3 separate regions of the Homo sapiens genome follow, and regions 1 and 3 are each linked to region 2. The links are contacts of gene promoters, found by promoter capture Hi-C in human tissues and cell types (Jung and others, 2019). All regions are on one chromosome and are shown on one strand. The core of a region is centred on a gene start or on the middle of the fragment in contact, and the rest is flanking DNA. Distances in the headings are between cores, read along the strand shown. Region 1 holds the start of TNFRSF17 (TNF receptor superfamily member 17). Region 2 holds the start of ERCC4 (ERCC excision repair 4, endonuclease catalytic subunit). Region 3 overlaps SHISA9 (shisa family member 9).

Region 1 (2,700 bases), core at 129-2,628, 2.0 Mb before region 2:
TTGAGAGCAACCTGGGCAACACGGCAAAAACCCATCTCTACAAAAAATACAAAACTTACCAGGCGTGCTGGCGCATGTCTGTAGTCCCAGCTACTTGGAAGGCTGAGGTGGGCAGATCACCTGAACCCAGGAGGTGGAGGCTGCAGTGAGCTGTGATTGTGTCACTGCACTCAGCCTGGGAGACAGAGTGAGACTCTGTCAAAAAAAAAAAAAAAGGCAAATTCAAGTGATCCATTTATGTAAACAGAAAAATGCACTATATAAATGTATCTATCTAGAATTCAGGGATCGGTGAAACAAAAGACATCGCATCGGCAGGTCTGTTTGCAACTTCTGGGATACACCAGGTGTTAGCGGTGATGACTTCTGGATGCTTGGACTGTGGATTTTTAAAATGGTTTTATCTGCTCATCTGTATTTCTAAATTTTCAACAATGGAACATAGATTATTGTATTATTATTATAATACCCCAAACCTATCTTCCTCTCAGCCCTCTTTCCACGAGCTCTTACCCTAAATGTCTCTTTTTCTGTCAGTGGCATTGTGCGTCTTCCTTAGTGCATCACCTCTGATCTTCCTGTAGAATTTTTTTTTTTTTTGAGATAGAGTCTTGCTTTGTCACCCAGGCTGGAGCGCAGTGGCCTGATCTTGGCTTACTGCAAACTCCGCCTCCTGGGTTCAAGCACGTCTCCCTGCCTCAGCCTCCTGAGTAGCTGGGATCATAGGTGCCTGCCACCATGCCTGACTAATTTTTGTATTTTTAGTAGAGACGGGGTTTCACCATGTTGGCCAGGCTGTTCTGGAACTCCTGACCTCAAGTGATCCACCTGCCTCGGCCTCCCAAAGTGCTGGGATTACAGGAGAGCGCCACGGCGCCCAGCTTACACCAGACTACTTTTTAAAATGTTTTTGTAAAGTCAGGGTTTCGCCATGTTGCCCAGGCTGATTTTGAACTCCTGGGCTCAAGCAATCCTTTTGCCTTTTGACTCCCAAAGTCCTGGGATTACAGGTGTGAACCCCTGCAGCTGGCCTCAATGTTAAGATCTTAAGGGGCACAGCACAGACCTTGTCTTGTCTATCTCCCTGGCACCTCTCACAGAGTACAGCTTATTAACAGATGTTCCAGAAACTGTTACTGAACATTCGGCTTGATGCTGTGGGCTTGTCTGCATCTTGCAACTGTCACCTGGCTGAGAAATTTCTTCTATAAATAAGCAGTTTCTGTTTCAGATGTGATATGCCCTGATATTTACACCCTGTCTCTTACCCCATCCAAGACTCAAACTTAGAAACTTGAATTAGATGTGGTATTCAAATCCTTAGCTGCCGCGAAGACACAGACAGCCCCCGTAAGAACCCACGAAGCAGGCGAAGTTCATTGTTCTCAACATTCTAGCTGCTCTTGCTGCATTTGCTCTGGAATTCTTGTAGAGATATTACTTGTCCTTCCAGGCTGTTCTTTCTGTAGCTCCCTTGTTTTCTTTTTGTGATCATGTTGCAGATGGCTGGGCAGTGCTCCCAAAATGAATATTTTGACAGTTTGTTGCATGCTTGCATACCTTGTCAACTTCGATGTTCTTCTAATACTCCTCCTCTAACATGTCAGCGTTATTGTAATGCAAGTAAGTAATATTGCTTGAACGATTATTCATTGGTGTGAACTATTCTGTCTATATGGACTGCTTATTCAGAGAATCAACATAATGGGCATGATGGTGAGTTTTCTTGAATCAAAAAGAGAAAGGAAGCAAGGCAGTGATTTTAATGTTTATGGAAACAAAGTAATTATTTGGAACTGAACTTGATATGATTCAGCACTATTAGCAACATAGATTTTTTTTAAAAATCAGCTCTTCTAATTAAGTGATATTTAGAATTTAAAAGTCAATGTTCATTAATTAAGGTGATTGAATGGAAATAATCCATACTTGATTATTTTGCTATCAAAACAATCCATAATTCATTATTTTAGCAAAATAATCAAGTATGACAGCCGGGTGCGGTGGATGGCTCACACCTGTAATCCCAGCACTTTGGGAGGCCGAGGTGGGTGAATCACCTGAGGTCGGCAGTTTGAGGCCAGCCTGGCCAACCTGGTGAAACCCTGTCTCTACTAAAAATACAAAAAATTAGCTGGGCATGGTGGCACAGGTCTGTAATCCCAGCTACTCGGGAGGCTGAGGCAGGAGAATTGTTTGAACTTGGGAGGTGGAGGTTGCAGTGAGCCGAGATCGCGCCACTGCACTCTAGCCTGGGCAACAGAGCAAGACTTTGTCTCAAAATAAATAAATAAATAATAACAATAAAGTATGTGAATATTATGTTATCAGCTCATTATCTGTCTGATGTTCTTTTCATAAAGGTGTGACCAATTCAGTGAAAGGAACGAATGCGATTCTCTGGACCTGTTTGGGACTGAGCTTAATAATTTCTTTGGCAGTTTTCGTGCTAATGTTTTTGCTAAGGAAGATAAACTCTGAACCATTAAAGGACGAGTTTAAAAACACAGGTTGGTTTGATGGTGAATCTTTGAAATCTATTTCCAGGGGATGGCTATTGTGAGTTTCAGTTCCTTTTCTTTTTTTAGCGTTGACTATTTCACTTCGTTACAGCCCTTTCGAATGTGTTAGAACATTGTTACATTAAATGAACTTGGTAGAGGTGAGCCATCTTCATTCTGATTTTGACACCTTGGCAGA
Region 2 (2,700 bases), core at 100-2,599:
GGAACAGATCCTCTTGGAAACGGCTAGTGTGAATGTGAATTGGTATAGGCTTTCTAGAGGGCAATGTGGCAATGTGAATGGAATGAAAAGCCTTACAAATTTTTTTCTCTTTATCCCAGTGATTATTCATTTCTAGACGTGTATCTGAAGGCCACGGCTGAATTTACATACAAAGATGTTTAGTGAAATATTATTTATATTACTGGAAGGGAAAAAGCAGAAACAGACTAAATGTCCTCTAATAAGCAATTAGGTAAGTACACCCACATAATGGAAATCTCATCAGCCATATAAAAGGACTTTGTAAAAGAATATGAAACATCATGTTCAGAGGTTTGCCAAATGTTAATGACAAAGCTGGGGATTTAAATCAGGGATATTAATTATCTCGTGTCGGTAAAAGAACTCCGTGTGATGAGAGAATGTGTATATAGATAGAAAAAAAAGGACTAAATAAAATAGATTTCGTGATGTTAACAGTGGTTATTTCCAAGTAATGGAAACAAGTGATTTTCATTTTTGTTTACTTGTATTTTCTATTTTCTAATAACAAAGGTGGGGGGTTTCTATACAAAACAATTCCTCTACTAGTTCAACTATCAGGCATTTCTAGGTATAGAACAAACACTGCGGGAGGTGTCCCTCTAGTGGAAGGAGGGATTTTTAAAAATAGTTTATTGTATTGAAGTCTTTGGGAGGCAAACAGAGGTCTGAAGTCAGTAAATGATTCTGCTTATTCCACAGCCACTGCACTCCAGCCTGGGCAACATATCAACATCCTGTCTCGGGAAAGAAAAAAAAAATTAAAAGAAGGATGGGGAGTAATCGCAAAAGGAAGGGCCAAAAACCACCCTAGGAAACAGGTGCTACTAACTCTTGGCGCATTTGGAATATTGACCAGTAACTTTTTCAACTGTCGATGTCGGGGGATTAAGCTCCTTAGGCTTACTTCCCCTTCCCTTGCTTTTTGGCAGCTTGAGGCTAGGGTGCCAGGGGATGTGGAAACTCAAAAGAGACGTGAATGGAGCCTGATATCTGCAAGCTACACCGACAGGGGGCGCCAGCCCCTACAGGTGACTCCATGAATCTTCGGCTCCACTCGGCTCTTCTTCGGCTGAGTTCGGCCAACGCTTGCCTTCTCAGGCTCGGCTCTCTTCGGCTTTCTGAGAGCGCGCCTGTCGTGGCCTCGGCTCCTCTTCGGCTGCGTTCGGCCCACGATCATCTCAGTCTCAGCTCTCCTCGGCTACGTTCGGCTGGCTGCCGTCCTCTCGGACTCGGCTCTCTTCGGTTGAGTTCGGCCTACTCTCCACTAGGAGTCGGCTTCCTTCGGCTGCGTTCGGCTGCGACCCGGAAGAGCTTCCATGGAGTCAGGGCAGCCGGCTCGACGGATTGCCATGGCGCCGCTGCTGGAGTACGAGCGACAGCTGGTGCTGGAACTGCTCGACACTGACGGGCTAGTAGTGTGCGCCCGCGGGCTCGGCGCGGACCGGCTCCTCTACCACTTTCTCCAGCTGCACTGCCACCCAGCCTGCCTGGTGCTGGTGCTCAACACGCAGCCGGCCGAGGAGGTGCGGCCGCGCTGGCGCGGGAGTGAGGGGACTCCGAGAGTGTTGAGGGCCTCCTGAGCGGATGCGAGGCCTCTGACAGGGATGGAGGGGCTCTGAGGGGGATTCAGGCCCCTGACACTACGCGATGACACAGAGAAGGATGGCAGGGGTCCCCAGGGGGATGCAGGTCCCTCACACTGCGGGAACACAGACGTATGTAAGGGGTCGCTAGGAGGATACCGGTCGCTCACACCGTGCGGGGACACTGATAAGAATTGGAGGGGCCCCGAGAAGGCTGCAGGTCCCTGGCAGGAGTTGAAGAACACTAAGAGGAATGCCAGTCCCTGACACTGTGCGGGGACTCTGAGAGGGAAGGGAGGGGTCCCAAGAAGGATGCAAGTCTTTGACCAGAGTTCAAGAACACTAAGAGAAATGGGAGGGGTCCCCAGGGGATGCGGGTCCCTGACACTGTGCAGGCACAGTGAGAATGATGGAAGGGGTCCCGAGAAGGATGCAATTCCCTGACAACACTAAGAGGGATGGGAGGGGTCCCCAGAAGGATGCAGGTCCCTGACATGGGTGCAAGGGCACTGAAAGGTGAAGGGGCTCTGAGTGGTAGGAGAGGATCGGAGGTCGCTGCAGGGGAGGGGGAGATGTCGGAAGGAGGATCTGGATAGGAATAACGGGAGAGTCCTGAAGTTGGCCATTAAGGGAGTTTCTGGGGGCAGAAGGAAGGTCCCTGAAAGGGAACAGTGATGAGGATGGAAGATCTCTGAGGGTGATGGGGAGACATGAAAGGAGATGCTGAGGCGCTGGAAAAACCCCAATAGGGAAAAGGAGGGACCAGGAAATAGGACATTCACCAAGGCTGTGTTAAGAGGGCCATAGGGTCAGAAAGGGATTGGAGCTTGACGCTGAGGATGTTGGCAAAGGTTAACTACAGTTAAGGACAATGGAGAACACTGAGAAAGATGGAATGGGGCTACACATGGGTCTGAGGGGTGTTGAGAGGGGACACAGCTTGGTCGGACAAGTCTGATGATCCCCTAGATATATCAGGTGGCCGGGAGAAAAATGTCAGCTGAGAAGAGTGACCACAGTCTCTTTGAGGGCAGGGATCCTGTTTGATTCATCTAGGTATCCCCAGTGCTTG
Region 3 (2,700 bases), core at 25-2,524, 1.0 Mb before region 2:
TACCCCAGGTACCTGCCAAATGCATCCTGGGCTGCTTACGCAGTTAATCACTTGGAGTCCCAGCTATGGCAACTGACCCAGTAGCCTTTGCCGGATTGTGCCAAGGGTTGCTCCAGTGGGTGTCAACTTGCCAAGCTTGGCATCAGAGAGGCTGCTATGACACAAAGCAGCTTCCAGGTGAAATTAACCTGCCAGTCACAGGCAGCTTCCAGGTGAAATTAACCTGCCAGTCACAGCCTCTTAATTTTTGTCTGGAGCTGCAAGGGACCCTGAATGGGGGTTTGTTCTCATCCAGACTGAAAGCATATTCTCTTGAAAGACATAAAGTATGTTGTCGCACCCCCATTATAAACTTTGCCCCTAGTGACCAGTAAACTTGGGTTTTGCTGCAGAGGCCTCCAAGATACCAGTTTGCAGGTTCAGAGTCCTGGGCCTGTGGCCTGCTTGCTTCTGGGCTAATTAGGGCTGAGAAAAGGAGAAAGACAGCAATTCCAGGAAGCGGTGGGGGGAGGCTCGCATGGGATCTCGTAAGAACCGAACAAATGCCCATTGAGCAGCTGCAAGAGCAGCCACAGTCAGTCACTATTTATTAGAATAAATGACTGCACATGGCAGCCAGCTATGGATACCAAACCATGTAGTCATGCTTTGCTTGATCTGCAAGGTATTTCTACTTAGGTGTTTTTATTTTTAAGTTTTCCTCAATTTTGTGTTGTGAGAAGTTTTAAACATACAAAAAAACCTTGAAAAATCATAACATAACTTCACTATATCCTTTATCTAGATGAGGATTTCTCAACCTTGGCACTATTGACTGGAGAATCCTGCGTTGTACGGGGCTGTCCTGTGCATGGCAAGATATTTGGCGGCGTCTCTGGTCTCTGCCCACTGATGCTGGTAGCACACACTCCACACCCCAGTTTTGACAGTGAAAAATGTCATCTAAGGGCAAAGGGCAAAACTGGCCCCAGTTGAGAACCACTAACTTAGATTGAACAATTATTAGTATTTTGTCATAGTTGCTTTATTGCTCACACACTCTTTCCATATTTTTTTCTTTCCCTTCTCCTTCCCTCCATCCCCCTTCCCCCTTCCCTCCTTCCCTCCCTCCCTTCCTCCTTTGTTTTTTCCTTCCTTCCTTATTTCCTTCCTTCCTCTCTTCCTTTCTTCTTTTCTTCCTTTCCCTCCCTCCCTCCCTCCTTCCCTCCATCCCCCTTCCACCCTTCCCTCCCTCCGTCCCTCCCTCCCTCCCTTCCTTGCTTCCTTCCTCCTTTCTTTCCTCTCTTCCCTTCCTACCCTTCTTCCTTCTGTCTTCTTCCCTTCCTCCCTTCTTTGCTTCTTTTTTCCTTCCTCCCTTCCCTTTTCTCCCTTCTCTTTCCTTCCTTCCCCTCCCCTCTTCTCATCTTCTTCCCTTCCTCATTTTCTTCCTTCCCTCTTCCCCTCCCTCCCTTTCTTCTTTCTTTCTTGGCTGAAACATGTGAAAATAAGTTGCAGACATGACACTTAGTCCCTAATATCTCAGCAGGGGGCTTTCCTGAGAGCAAGGACATTTTCCTACACAGCACAATTCCATTATCACACCCAGGAAAAAGAGCAAAAATCCCGTAATATCATCAGACATCCAGTCATTTAAAAATTTCTCACTCGCACAAAAACAGGTCTTTCAGAGCTTGGTTTTGCACATCGGGACCCAGCTCATTGTATTTGGCTGTGAAATCTCTTTAGTCTCTATTATGCGTGGTGTTTTAAAACCAGCTGAGACTCAGTTGCCAACATTTACAAACTGGGAGATTTCACGCAGGAATCCAGATTCCTGATTTCTCATGAGAACTCAGTGGGTCTGGTGACATTGGATCTGCATTTTCACGCAGCAGCTATTGGTTGCCACTAAGTGATGACTGCCCCCTTCAGGAAGCTCTTGGGTTCATCTCAGTCACCACCTCCACCCAATTCACTCTGTTATGTTAACTGCAGCCTCTAGAGAGTCAGTCAAGTTGCTCTGCATAGCGCAGACTCCAGTCAGATGGCCTGAGATTCAATCTCAGCTCAGCCACTTAATAGCTGTGTGACCTTGGGAAGGTTGCTTCACCTCTCTGAGTCTCAGGCTGTTGTCTGCAGGTGGAGGATTCACTGAGACAGGGCTTGGAAAACAATGAGCTCAGGACCTGTCACAACTATTACCCTTTTATCATCATCCTTATTATTGACATTTTTTACCTCTTGTCTACTGAAGAGAATTATGTTGTCATCTGGATCTCGGTTACTAACCCTTGCTCTGCTATATTTATTTAACTGTGTGACATTGACCAAGTCTCCTAACCTCTCTGGACTTGCATTTGAATCTGAGTGGGAGGGGCTGGCAGGTGCAGAATAGGAGGGAGGGTCTATATGTGACTACGTTAAATACATTGCAAAGTGTTGGCCTAAGTGGTGTTGAAAAATCCTTGTTGGTTTTGCAATTTTGCCATAAGCTTATGTGTAAATTCTCGTTTAATTTCATACCCTTCCCCCATGAGGTAGGCTCTATGACAATCTGCTGTTTATGGAGGCACAGATTTCTTTCCAAGAGGACGAACCTGCCCCTGGAGAGTGGAGTGTCGGACTTCAAACCTGGACAGTCTGAGTGCACGGATCCTTGGCCGCTAGGCTGCACTGCGTTTGAGTGCAAACCTGCAGGAATTCCAGACTTCTCAGATCACA

Evidence for each region. The method cuts DNA at HindIII sites, captures the fragments that hold promoters and counts their contacts. A contact is called where the count stands out against the background at its distance.
Region 1: the fragment with the promoter of TNFRSF17 here is called in contact with the fragment with the promoter of ERCC4 in region 2 in 1 of the 25 tissues and cell types used here (dorsolateral prefrontal cortex).
Region 3: a contact is called between a fragment that was not itself captured here and the fragment with the promoter of ERCC4 in region 2, in 1 of the 25 tissues and cell types used here (dorsolateral prefrontal cortex).

The regions. Positions count from the first base shown.
Region 1 is chr16:11,963,832-11,966,531 of GRCh38, forward strand. It overlaps TNFRSF17 (TNF receptor superfamily member 17), which reads left to right and starts at 1,379. Exons shown (of 3, transcript NM_001192.3): 1 at 1,379-1,623; 2 at 2,364-2,510. The coding sequence starts at 1,494. It also overlaps a transcript of NPIPB2 not described here. RefSeq lists enhancers at 927-1,046, 1,167-1,606. The HindIII fragment of the contact is 26,500 bases long and covers 1-2,700 here.
Region 2 is chr16:13,918,805-13,921,504 of GRCh38, forward strand. It overlaps ERCC4 (ERCC excision repair 4, endonuclease catalytic subunit), which reads left to right and starts at 1,350. Exons shown (of 11, transcript NM_005236.3): 1 at 1,350-1,568. The coding sequence starts at 1,362. All of the region lies in intron 1 of LOC105371093 (a long non-coding RNA gene), which reads right to left. LOC124903647 (a long non-coding RNA gene) reads right to left here and starts at 1,274. Exons shown (of 2, transcript XR_007065001.1): 1 at 875-1,274; 2 at 661-779. RefSeq lists enhancers at 934-983, 1,194-1,553, 1,594-1,803. The HindIII fragment of the contact is 8,609 bases long and covers 1-2,700 here.
Region 3 is chr16:12,905,959-12,908,658 of GRCh38, forward strand. All of the region lies in intron 1 of SHISA9 (shisa family member 9), which reads left to right. Among named protein-coding and RNA genes, the nearest start is that of SHISA9, 5.7 kb to the left of the region's middle. The HindIII fragment of the contact is 4,669 bases long and covers 1-2,700 here.